2 separate regions of the Homo sapiens genome follow, and region 1 is linked to region 2. Evidence: promoter capture Hi-C in 16 types of primary human blood cells and fetal thymus (Javierre and others, 2016). All regions are on one chromosome and are shown on one strand. The core of a region is centred on a gene start or on the middle of the fragment in contact, and the rest is flanking DNA. Distances in the headings are between cores, read along the strand shown. Region 1 overlaps SNX17 (sorting nexin 17). Region 2 holds the start of IFT172 (intraflagellar transport 172).

Region 1 (5,891 bases), core at 3,243-5,742, 120 kb after region 2:
GGTCAGAGATCTTGGGCGTGCAAGATCCCCCAACAAACAGCAACCTCACCAACGCTGGAACTCACTGAGAGTTTGACCATAGACTCCCGGGTGGCATCAGGTGACTCCTGGGGAAGAAGAGGCAGAGGTGTCAGAAACTCACTAGGAGAGGTGAGGCAGGGCTGAGAGCCAGGGTTCTGACCAGGAGGTAATACTTACAAGCAGTGGTGGGGACTTCACTGCTTGCTGGCTGTCTGAGCGTCTCAGAGTACCCCCCACCCGCCGGCGCAGCATCTGGGGACAGACACAAGGTGCCGGTGAGGGCAGGATCACTTCCCCTCCCTCTCAAGACAAGCCTCACATCTAGGACAAAAGGCAAGGGGAGCACACCTGCTCACTGCTCAGTCCACACTTGCTGCCTACCTTCCTGATACTGCCGCCAGATTTCTTCACCATCAGTTCATCAACCATGGACTGCAAGCAGATGCTCATCATGATAGCCTGAGGGCAAGAAGAGTGTCCAGCTTGATGAGAGTGGTCACTCTGAGCCCAGCACCACTAATGCCTCCCATATTGAGTACTGGAAACTCTACACTTTAAGGTGCTCCAGAGGAGGGCTGAGGGTAGGTTCACACCTGGGGGCTAGTGATGGTGACCCACTGTAGCCGGTCCTTGCTCATGAGGTATTCAAAAGCCAGTTCCAGGCGCACCTCACCCCGGCCCCGGCCTGGGCTGCTCGTGCTTCCACTGGGCAATGGTACCTGGGAGAGGAAGGGGAATTCGGTTGAGTTCACTCTGACCAACCTGTCTGGCTCCCTGACCCGCTGCAGCCCATACCTAAGCTCAAGGCTTGCCGGGCCCCCAACCCAGGCCCTTCCCCCTCCTAACCCGACTCACAGAGGAGGTGACCCGCCAGCATCGCATGCGGGTGACCCGGAAGGAGCCTTCTCGGAGTTGCTGGCCAGGCAGGCGGAGCTGCAGGCTGAGCTCACTGTTGCCCGCGCTCACCACCACAGGACAGTCCTTTTCTGGGAAGTCAGCCACACAGGCATCAAAGCGCAAGTAGCCATAGTGCCGCAGCGTCTGGGCCAGTCTCAGGAACTGAAAAATGGTCATCACATGGGGGTAGATTAGGAGGGAGAATGGGGCAGCTCAGAAAAAGCAACCCCGGTCGGGCGCGGTGGCTCATGCCTATAATCCCAGCACTTTAGGAGGCAGAGGCAGACAGATCACAAGGTCAGGAGCTCAAGACCATCCTGGCTAACATGGTGAAACCCTGTCTCTCCCAAAAATACAAAAAATTAGCCGGGCGTCGTGGCGGGTGCCTGTAGTCCCAGCTACTCGGGAGGCTGAGGCGGGAGAATGGCATGAATCTGAGAGGCAGAGCTTGCAGTGAGCCAAGATCGCGCCACTGCAAGCCCTTAGAGGAAGACAGAGAGGAGGCAGGGCTCACCTCCTTCTTGGAGACTTTCTCTTGCAGAGATTTGAGTTGCCGGTGCTGTTCCTTGGTGACCAAGATCCACCCACGCTCAATATCTGATACCGTCTATAGTAGAGACAAGGGGCAGGCAGTAGGAGGTCCCAGTCAGCAATCCAAGGAAAGCGTCTACCATTACCTCTGTCCAGCCTGACCCCTAGCCCCACACTTGAGCGACCTCTCTGCAGTAAGTCCTTGATCTTGTCAGCTTAATAAAAGTAGGGAGAGTAGATATTGTGCCAGCAGCACTGATAGTATTCTAGGAACTTCCCCACAAATTGGGAACAAAGACACGACAGCAGTTTTCTTGGGAGAGTGAGTCACCCGTTATTTTCTTCAGGGGAAGGGTTCTGAGGCAGCTCCAAGCTCACCTGAGCATAAAGCAGGTTCAGGCCAACCCGGTTCTCCATGACATCGTCATCATAGGCAGAGTCCCAATAACTGTGAGGCCAAGGGGTGGAAAGGGGTAATGGGGCTAAGCTGGGTTAAGGCAAGAGGTAGAATGGAAAATGGGCAAAACAGGAGCAATCTGGAACTATCAGGGGCTAATGGTATAGTGGGAGGAAGCTTGGGAGGCCTGGCAGAAACACCCAGCACTACACCCCCTTGTCCAGATTATTCTGTCTCAATATGTGGCCCAATAATCCAATCCAGCACAGCACCTCCCACCCCTCCCCTTCCAGGCCCAGCCCTGACCTCTTCCTTAGCACAATCTTATACTCTTGACTCCGAAGGCTGGTGACAGACACATAAGGCAGCTCAAACTCTTGCAACTTCCGTACAACTACAGGTTAAAAAAAAAAAAATGAAAATATAGTGAGATTTAAAGGAAGGGAAATCAAGAAAGAAGTGCCCTGAGGCAATGTTCATTCTGGGGGTGGGGGTGGGGAGTTAGGGGGGCTGCAAACTCTACTGAAGTACCCTTGTACTGCAGTCAAGTCCAGAGAAACTCACAAGAAAAGGCTCCATCCTCTTTTTCTCGAACTAAGAATAGACTAAAGTATCCAATCAAGTCATCTGGAAGATCCAGCTTTGCAGCTACAGCCTGGGGATAGGGATAGAAGTACAGCTCATCATACTGGCTGGTTCCAATCATTCTCCAAGCCCAGGACCCCAGGATGTAGGGGAAGAAGGGGCAGTGCTGAACAAGCGCCTCACCTCCAGGACATCCTCAGTCTGATCTGAAGTTAGCACGTTGACCAGAACTTTCTGCCCGTTGCTGAGCAGCACTTCCAAGGACACTTCCTCTGTGGGGACCTGCTGTGTCTCCTGTTGTGAGCACACATGGGGATGGGAAGCACTGCCTTGTCCCTTGCCTTGACCTATGCCCAACTCTATTTCTAGGTCCCTTGTGTGTCTTTATTCTCAGCTGCTTAAATATAGGCTGTGATTTCTTTGATTTCATAAGAATAGAAGTTCCATTCCATTAAAAAAGATGACTCCTCTGTTATTAAGATGACATGGCCTGGCTGGGTGTGGTGGCTCACACCCGTAATCCCAGCACTTTGGGAGGCCAAGGCGGGTGGATCACCTGAGGTCAGGAGTTCGAGACCAGCCAGGCCAACACGGCAAAACCCCGTCTCCACTAAAAATACAAAAATGAGCCGGACATGGTGGCAGGCGCCTGTAATTCTAGCTACTTGGGAGGCTGAGGCAGGAGAATCGCTTGAATCCGGGAGGCGGAGATTGCAGTGAGCTGAGATCGCACCACTGCACTCCAGCCTGTGCAAAAGAGCAAGACTCTGTCTCAAAAAAATAAAAGACATGACCTTCCAGCAAGGTCCTTTCCTTAAATCTTGGTCCCACCCAAAGCCCTACCTGTTGTGCCCGACGCAGGAAACTGTTGAAAGTCTCGCTGCTCCCAAGCAATGGGTCTTGCCGAACTACGAGGACAAGAGAACATTATTACAGGAACTTAGCACTCACTCTTGGCTCCCCAGTCCTCCTCTCAGTAGGTTCCCCCGACCCCATTTCCTGGGCTGATGGTGGCCTGCCACATCCCCCAGCTGGCCTCACCTCACTCACTGTTTGCATAAATTCTTCACCTGCCCCACCCTTGGCTGCCATCTAGGTGAGTCCAGTCTATAGAACTAGGGAAATAACAATGATGTTAATCTAAAGCACATCAGATACAAATTAAGTTCTCTCCACTGATATTAAGACTAGTGTTATACTAGTATTTCTCATAGATGTTAGTGCCCAAATTGTTTTGCTAGTACACAGAGTTACACATCCTCGTACACTATTTACTTTGCTAACTGCATAACAGATCAAACAAGAGCCTTCCTAGATCTAGAAATTAAATCAGGCCCTTCCACAGAACCAGCTGTTTTTAAGTCTCTCCCCATAGTCCTCAATATAGTCAACCTAGTTTCCTGCAACCACTCACCAGCTTGCATGTACTTCTCTAACTGCTCTCTCCTCTGTTCTACCTCAGCAGGAGTCAGAGAGAAAAGCTTCTTTGGGGGGAATGCAGGAAGCACATTGGCCCCATACTCCTTCCGAAGCTATTTAGAGAAAGAGATACAACCCTTCACATAAACACAGAAAATGAGATGAGGCAATCTACATATGCTCATAATGTTCTCTTGGGTGCCCCTCCCTTCCCTCAGTCCCTGTTCCCCTGTCTACCCTGGTCATCTGAGAAACAATTCCTTTGACAGCGGTAGCACCTCAAGGGAGCTGTCCTAGATATAAGTTGTGCTCTATTTTACTGTGTACAAGTCAGCCCCTCCACAGTACGGGGAGGATTTGTACTGGGCCAGGACCTATAGGGAGCCCCTTGACCACCTAGCAAGACTGTTCACTGAACCCTTAAAGGAAGGAAAGGGCTTTATAAAGTGCACAGTTAATAGCTAAGTCTGTTCACAAAATATCTTAGGACTTAAAGGGACTTTGCAGATCAAAGAATCCATCTTTCAGTTGTAGAAACTGAGGCCCAAAGAAATCAGTTTCTACAGGCCTCATGCCTGTAATCTCAGCATTTTGGGAGGCAAGGTGGGTGGATCACCTGAGGTCAGGAGTTTGAGACCAGCCTGGCCAACATAGTGAAACCCCTCTCTACTAAAAATACAAAAATTAGCTGGGTGTGGAGGCAGCCGCCTGTAATCCCAGCTACTCAGGAGGCTGAGGAAGGAGAATCGCTTGAACCCAGGAGGCAGAGGTTGCAGTGAGCCGAGATCGTGCCACTGCACTCCAGCCTGGGCAACAAGAGAGAAACTCCGTCCCAAAAAAAGATATCAGGTAACTTGTTCAGGGTTGCACAACTAATTATCAGTGGAGCTCTACTGAGTTAAATAGAGTTTAAGATCTGGTAAGGAAGGAGGAGAAACATTGCATCACAGATACATAACGATAATTGGCACAGCTAAACACACTGAAATGAGCCGAAGAACACAAAAGGAAATCGGTGAATCGTTTGTATAAGCAGGGAAAAGAATTTCAAGTTGCCGCTCAGATGACAGAAGGAATGTGCTTTGACAGCCTGGGTGGAGGTAGTGGGGGGAGGGGTTGGTTTGTCCATGCAGGGGTAAAGGCTACTAGAGCAGTAAGACTGGACAGAAAACCAGAATATAAGAACAGGAAGGAGCAGTTGTTGCGCGGACATTAAGCTTCTTAGGGAGTTCCCGGAAATGTCAGACAAGATAAACCAGGGCCCTACCCTGTGGCAGTGATTAAAGGGGAACTACAGCCTACGGGAACAAGAAGAGCGGGTAAAGGGAGACACTGATGTCCACGTGTAGGGAAGGGCTTGAAGCTGTCTCAAGGCAGGGGTGCTAGTCCCACCTGCTCGTGCAGCCCCAGGAGCTGGCTGTAGCGCACCCGACAGTGCAGGACTCCATTCACGTGAATGTTATAGGCCTGAGGACACAAAAGTAGTCAAGCATTTTAGGGTTGCGGTCTGCGCAACCCCCCTGAGAACCCTGGCCGGAAGTTGCCTGGCAACTCGCCGGAGTAACGCGCTAATCTCCCGAGGGATAGTTCGCTTGTTTTCGCCAGGGCCAAGTCCCAAAGCTGAAGAGCCAGTCCGGGGGAAATTCGGACGCTTGTGTTGCAGTCTCACTGCCCAAGAGGCCAGTGACGCCCACCAGGGCAGCTGCGGCCTAGCTCGGGGAAGCGACCCGGCCTAAGGGCCTACAGGAGCTCGGGCGACCACTGCACGAATCACACACATGAGATAAGCTCCCAGAGAGGCCGTCGGGAGTCGGCGGCCCAGGACCAGGCCCGAAGGGTGGCGGTCAGGCCTCAGAGGCCGCTCCGAGATGGCTCGGGCCCGTTATCCCCGCCCCTGCCCGGCCCGGCTCGGCTCCGGCCGCTCCTCACCACGTAGGCGGAGCCGCCGCTGTCCCCGCTGCGGGACTCGGTTTCGGGAATGGAAAAGTGCATGTTCCCTACGGCACGGCACGGCCGGGCTCCGGACTGTGAGGGCCGCAGC
Region 2 (6,374 bases), core at 264-2,763:
CTGAGGCCTACTTGTTTCCTGTGAAAATAGGGGCTGTCCTCTGCTCTTTCCTATTTTCTAAGGGGTGGTTGGTGGCCATGAGACAAACACCTGTTGACACTTGCAAACCACTGTGGGGGAAGGCTTCTGGACCCACAGTCTGTCTGGAGAGCATATGTTACACTTCCTGGAGAGTTACAGATCTTCCCAACTTTGGATCATTTCAGAGCAGGCTTATGAATAACTCCTTTCTGCATTTCAATCTCTCTGGTATGTTAGAAGATAGGCCAAAAATTCTGAACGGGACTCCAAAGATCAACAAGTCAGTCTCTTTTCTACTTAACCAATCTCTAACCCCAGGTATCACAAGACAACCTATCGGGTGAGCCAAGTCAGGTCTGCCCTCAAAACTGAACCACAGGCCGAGAACGGTGGCTCACGCCTGTAATCCCAGCATTTTGGGAGGCCAAGGCGGGCAAATCACCTGAGGTCGGGAGTTTGAGACCAGCCTGACCAACATGGAGAAACCCTGTCTCTACTAAAAATACAAAATTGGTCGGGCGTGGTGGCACATGCCTGTAATCCCAGCTACTTGGGAGGCTGAGGCAGGAGAATCTCTTGAACCCGGGAGGCAGAGGTTGCAGTGAGCCAAGATCGCGCCATTGCAGTCCAGCCTGGGCAACAAGAGTGAAACTCTGTCTCAAAACAACAACAACAACAAACTGAACCATAAAAACATTCCAATGTAAACAGCAGTCTTTAACCCACCATTACCCAATTAGGAAGTAGGGTACCTTACGTTTCTTTGGCAGCTAGTTCCAAAACACTCATCTTCCAGATTCTGAGAATAAATGTCATTTATTGGGATGGGAATGTGACAGGTTATAGTATCGTGGCATGGAGAGAGCGAGCTAGGAGTTGAGAAGGAACATAAAAGCTGTTTAAAGCTACTAACTCTGGGTTGAACTCCAGTTCCAAGTCCTTCGCTGGCTGTGTTAGTTTGAGCAAGTGCCCTGAGTCTCCTGTTATGTAAAATGAGACTAATAATAACGCTATCCCCTTCAAAAGGTGGTTTTGGGATTAAATGATATAAATGCACGTACAATACTTTACACAGTACCTGGCAGACACATACTGAGTATTCATCGTTAGCTATCGTTATTAGCCTTGCGATCCCGTGCAAATCATGTAACCTATTTGGGTACAATTCCGTCAACTGCAGAAGGCCTATCATGGAAACCGCCCTGCTTCCCTCCAGAGTTGTGAGGATTAAGAGAGTGCACTCAGAAAGTCAGGTACATCGAAGAGCGAGACGGACCGCTATGACGTAGGACCTGGGGCTGGCTGAAGGCTTGTGGGCGGGGCTTGGTCTTGAGTTTGCATGCGGCGACGGGATTGGTCAAGGAGAACATTCATGAAGCCCTCTCAAGGGCCCGCCCTAGATCTCACCGCGCTTGCGCACGTTCTGTTTGCTTCGCCGCAAAGTTACGTGTGACCTTGCGACGCGTGTTGCGCTCCGGTCGCATAAGCGTCAGTGCCTGTCGCTGCGGCTGCGTGGCGGGTTGTCCAGGTAACCACGGGAGTTGTCGCTGTCTAGGAGCATCTGAAAGACAGGTGTGCGTCATGCACTTGAAGCACCTGAGGACCCTGCTGAGCCCTCAGGTGAGGAATTGCGTGCCAGTCCCTCCCCCTTATGCTTTATGTTCCAAGAAAAGTGGGGGAACTGAAGTTTAATGATGTTGACCTCCTACTGTGTGCAGAAGGCTGTAAGGGATATAGCGATGATCTGGATCTTGGCCTGTCGATACAGCGTCCAGGAGGCGAGATGCAGGGCTAAGGACTTGTAGCTTTCCTTACATTTCATTCACATCAGTTGTGTACAGGCCCCATGCTGGGGTTCGTAGGAATCCCAAACCACCCGACTTATGTCCCTCCCTTCAGGAGGCTCGTATTAGAGGGTGAGGTGCACATGTAAGCAGCGAGTATGCATGTGCCCATAATTAAATAAGCGCCTTAGGTGCAAGCCCTGAAGGGGGAGTGCAAAGACCGAACCGTGTATTCTGATTCAGGAGAGGCTGGGCACTAGGGGAGGAGCCCTGAAACATGGTGAAGAAAGGGTGGGCTTTGGAGTTAGCACACCAGAATTTAAGTCCTAGCTCCACCACTACTTTCTTATTTTCTTTTTAAAATTTCTTACCTTGTCCTTATTTCAGGTCAACCACTACTTTATTTAACTATTTGAGACAGAGTTTTGCTCTGTTGCCCAGGCTGGAGTGCAGTGGCTCGATCTCACTGCAACCTCCGCCTCCCGGGTTCAAGGGATTTTCCTGCCATAGCCTCCCAAGTAGCTGGGATTACAGACGTGCGCTAGCACGCCCGGGTAATTTTTTGTTTCTTTGTTTGTTTTTGTTTTTGTTTTTTGTAGAGACGAGGTTTCCCCATGTTGCCCAGACTGGCCACCAGTACTTTAAACAAATGACCTGATATCTCTAACTTTAGCCTTTATTATACAATGTCTCGGAGCACTCACCAACTTCTTCATTTGAAAAAACATGAGTACTAATAGCAACTTTAGGGGACTTGGGGAAGAGTTATATAGAGTAATATACACAAAAGAGCATTGTAAACTGAAAAGCAGTGTGAAAAATTGATAGACAAGAGGAAAGGACATTCAAAATTCAAAGGACAGAATAATACAAAGCTAATAAGAATAAGATGTCTGGCCAGGCCCAGTGGCTCACACCTGTAATCCCAGCAATTTGGGAGGCCAAGGTGGGAGGATCACTTGAGCCCAAGATTCCAAGACCTCTACAAAAAAATTTTGACCAGGTGCGGTGGCTCACACCTGTAATCCCTGTACTTTGGGAGGCCGAGGCGGGCGGATCACCTGAGGTCAGGAGTTCAAGTCCAGCCTGGCCAACATGGTGAAACCCCATCTCTACTAAAAATGCAAAAATTAGCCGGGCGTGGCAGCAGCCGCCTGTAATCCCAGCTACTCAGGAGGCTGAGGAAGGAGAATCGCTTGAACCCGGGAGGTGGAGGTTGCAGTGAGCCGAGATCGTGCCACTGCACTCCAGCCTGGGGGACAAGAGTGAGACTTTGTCCAAAAAAAAAAAATTTTTTTTAAATAGCCTCGTGTGGTGGCAAGCACCTGTAGGCCCAGCTGCTGGGGTCACTGAAGTGGGAGGATCTCCTGAGCCCAGGAGGTCGAGGCTGCAGTGAGACGTGATCACACCACTGCACTCCAGCCTGGGTGACAGAGTGAGGCTGTGTCTTAAAAATAAATAAGATGTTCCATAACTGAGTGTGTAATATGTACTGGGGTACCTTAATAAAGAAATTGGGATTATGGTTTATGGATTTACACATACATGGATTTAATCATGGTTCTAGGCCAGGCGCAGTGGTTCATGCCTGTAAACCAAGCTCTTTGGGAGGCCGAGGCAGGCAGATCACCCGAGGTCAGGGGTTCGACACCATCCTGGCCAACGTGGTGAAACTACTAAAAATACAAAAATTAGCTAGATGTGGTGGCGCATGCCTGTAATCCCAGCTACTCGGGAGGCTGAGGCAGGAGAATCGCTTGAACTCAGGAGGCAGAGTTGCAGTGAGTCAAGATCGCACCACTGCACTCCAGCCTGGGTGACAGAGCGAGACTCTGCCTCAAAAAATAAATTAATTAAATAAATAAATCATGGTCCTACCACTTACAAACTGTATATGTGAACTTGGGCAAATTACTTAATCTTTTTGGGCTTCCATTCATCTATCTGTAAAAGGGGGATAATAATAGCATCTACCTCAGTGTTATGAGGTAAAATGAGATTATGCTTGTCAAGCACTTATCAAAATGCCTATTCTATGGTAAGTACTTGTTAAAGGCAAGCTCTTATTATTTTATTCCCTACCTCACTTAATAAAAAAATCTAGTGAGGTACATATTGTAGAGAAAGGAGAATTAATTGATTATGGAAATCAGGAAGGCTTCACAGAGGGTGTGGCATTTGGACAATAGGAGGAAATGAGAACACAGGCCGGGCGTGGTGGCTCACGCCTGTAATCCCAGCACTTCAGGAGGCCAAGGTGAGTGGATCACTTGAGGTCAGGAGTTCAAGACCAGCCTGGGCAATACGGTGAAACCATGTCTCTACCAAAAATATAAAAAAATTAGCCAGGCATGGTAGCACACGCCTATAGCCTCAGCTACTTGGGAGGCTGAGGCAGGAGAATCGCTTGAGCCCAAGAAACAGAGGTTGCAGTGAACTGAGATTGTGACACTGCACTCCAGTCTGGGGGACAGAGTGAGACTCCGTCAAAAAAAAAAAAAGAAGGAAATTAGAACAAAGATAGTTGTGCTCTCTCCTCAGTTGGAGAAAAAAATAAAAAGACAGAGATTTGTGCTCATTGCTCAGCAAGCTGTCCATTGAATCTGTACTTTAAAAATTTCTCCGCCCTAATGGAAAAATTGGAAATGAAATCCTCCTTCAGTCTCTCAAAATAAGATGATGTCATGATGCAGGTAGGGCTGAATGCCCAGAATTGGGCAAAGCGATAAAGCAGGAGGATCAGCAAAGATTGATGAGGAGCCCTCAGGCCTTCTAACCTAATATAATGAAGAGTTAGAGGATCATAGTGATGGTGGTGTGGCTATTTTCTGGTTTGAGGATTTGCAGGAAAATAGACTTTTTACTTCTGACTTTGGAGATAGGTGAGTTTGGAGTGTAAAGTGTCAATGTTTGAAGCCAGAACTCTAGTGTCCAAATAATTAAACAATTGGGGCAGAAGAAAAGCAGAATAAAATGTTTTGTTTTCAAGGAAGGAAACCCTTAGTAGCAGAGCTAGTCCCTTAGGACCAGAGCTAGTGTTGGAAGGGTCAGATCTGGTCAGAATAATTCACCTGGAGATAACTTCTAACTTGGGTTTCTCTGAAGTGGGTAGTTAAGAAGAAAAGAAAGTGGGATTATTCGTCCTGAGTCTCAACTCGTACTCGCCCATCCTGAACTCTCACTGTCTCTCCCTTTCCTTTCAAATAAGCCCAAACTCCTTTGCCTGGCTTCAAAGACTTCCTGAGCTGGCCTGTTTTTCCTGCCTTACCCCGTCTATTCTACTATTTATAAGGTATAATAGTTTCAAATAAACTAAATTACTGTTTCTTGTCCAGAATTTGCCTTTGCTCATTGCCATTCCTCCCATCTCAGATAACTTCCTACTCAACTGCATTCATTCTTCAAAGCTTAATTTTGATAATTTAAGCATAAAATTCTCTCAGGCTTCTCCAAACTATTGTAGTACTTTATACATACTTTAATAGGACTTTTCTATTTTGCACCATCTTATTAGACGTGGAGGCAGGATCTATGGTTTGCTTTTTGTCTCTCTCTCAGCCCCTGGCCAAGTGCCTTGATCAATAAGGTGCTAAAAAAATATTAATTGAATGAATGGCTAATGACCAAAACTTACCAGACTAATTGAATTTATTTCAGTAGCAGACCTGGAAACGAGGAGGCCGTTGCAGGGATTCATTGATACAGTTGACTTAGCACCCTGCCTCTTAGTGCATTTGCATATGAGTCTCTAGAAGCCTGTTGTTCTCACAGTCCAGGATCTGAAGGCCTTGGAGACCAGCATGGGCCACAGGCATCTCTTTGTTTTGAGGATAGAACCGTGACAGGAAGAAAATTGACCAGTATTACACTAGAATTAATGAAGCTAGAAATGCTTTTGGCATTCTAGACCAGCACATGGGTTTGTTTTTACCCCTTTGCCTCTACAGGATGGAGCTGCAAAGGTGACCTGCATGGCTTGGTCCCAGAACAATGCCAAATTTGCTGTCTGCACAGTGGACCGAGTGGTCTTGCTGTATGATGAACATGGAGAACGGAGAGATAAATTCTCCACCAAACCAGCTGACATGAAGGTAAACAGTGTATTCATGTGTACCTTATTTAACCTATTGATGGGGTCTCACAACTTGAAAGACGTAGTCTGCCTTCTAGCCATCAGCATAGGAAATGGCATACCCCACCTTTTTCTCAGTATAAATCCTCAAGCTCCCTTAGGAGCACACATATGCCTTTTTTTCTCTTTTCTCTTTCATGTGTACTCATTACTTCTTTTTCTTTCTTTTTTTTTTTTTAAACTCTTAGTATGGCAGGAAGAGCTATATGGTGAAGGGCATGGCTTTTTCTCCTGATTCCACTAAAATTGCCATAGGACAGACTGACAACATCATCTATGTCTACAAGATTGGAGAAGATTGGTGAGGATAGAGACTGGGAGATGGGATGGCCCAGGAAAGAAGGGGAAGGCAAGAGAAATGCCTCACTGGGGAGGGGAAATACAGGGGATGAGAAGCCAAGCTTGGCCATTGAAGGCAGAGACTTTCTGGAGTCTGT

The links. The method cuts DNA at HindIII sites, captures the fragments that hold promoters and counts their contacts. A CHiCAGO score of 5 or more calls a contact.
Region 1: a fragment that was not itself captured here is called in contact with the fragment with the promoter of IFT172 in region 2 in 1 of 17 cell types (naive CD4 T cells); the score reaches 5.2 in naive CD4 T cells.

The regions. Positions count from the first base shown.
Region 1 is chr2:27,370,695-27,376,585 of GRCh38, reverse strand. It overlaps SNX17 (sorting nexin 17), which reads right to left. Exons shown (of 15, transcript NM_014748.4): 1 at 5,780-5,891; 2 at 5,243-5,317; 3 at 3,846-3,963; 4 at 3,275-3,339; 5 at 2,615-2,725; 6 at 2,411-2,501; 7 at 2,153-2,240; 8 at 1,828-1,897; 9 at 1,433-1,525; 10 at 877-1,080; 11 at 615-740; 12 at 403-480; 13 at 199-273; 14 at 66-107. The coding sequence starts at 5,842. Among named protein-coding and RNA genes, the nearest start is that of SNX17, 3.0 kb to the right of the region's middle. RefSeq lists enhancers at 5,588-5,677, 5,079-5,891. The HindIII fragment of the contact is 1,155 bases long and covers 3,915-5,069 here.
Region 2 is chr2:27,484,882-27,491,255 of GRCh38, reverse strand. IFT172 (intraflagellar transport 172) reads left to right here and starts at 1,513. Exons shown (of 48, transcript NM_015662.3): 1 at 1,513-1,641; 2 at 5,753-5,896; 3 at 6,126-6,238. The coding sequence starts at 1,603. The HindIII fragment of the contact is 7,682 bases long and covers 1-5,214 here.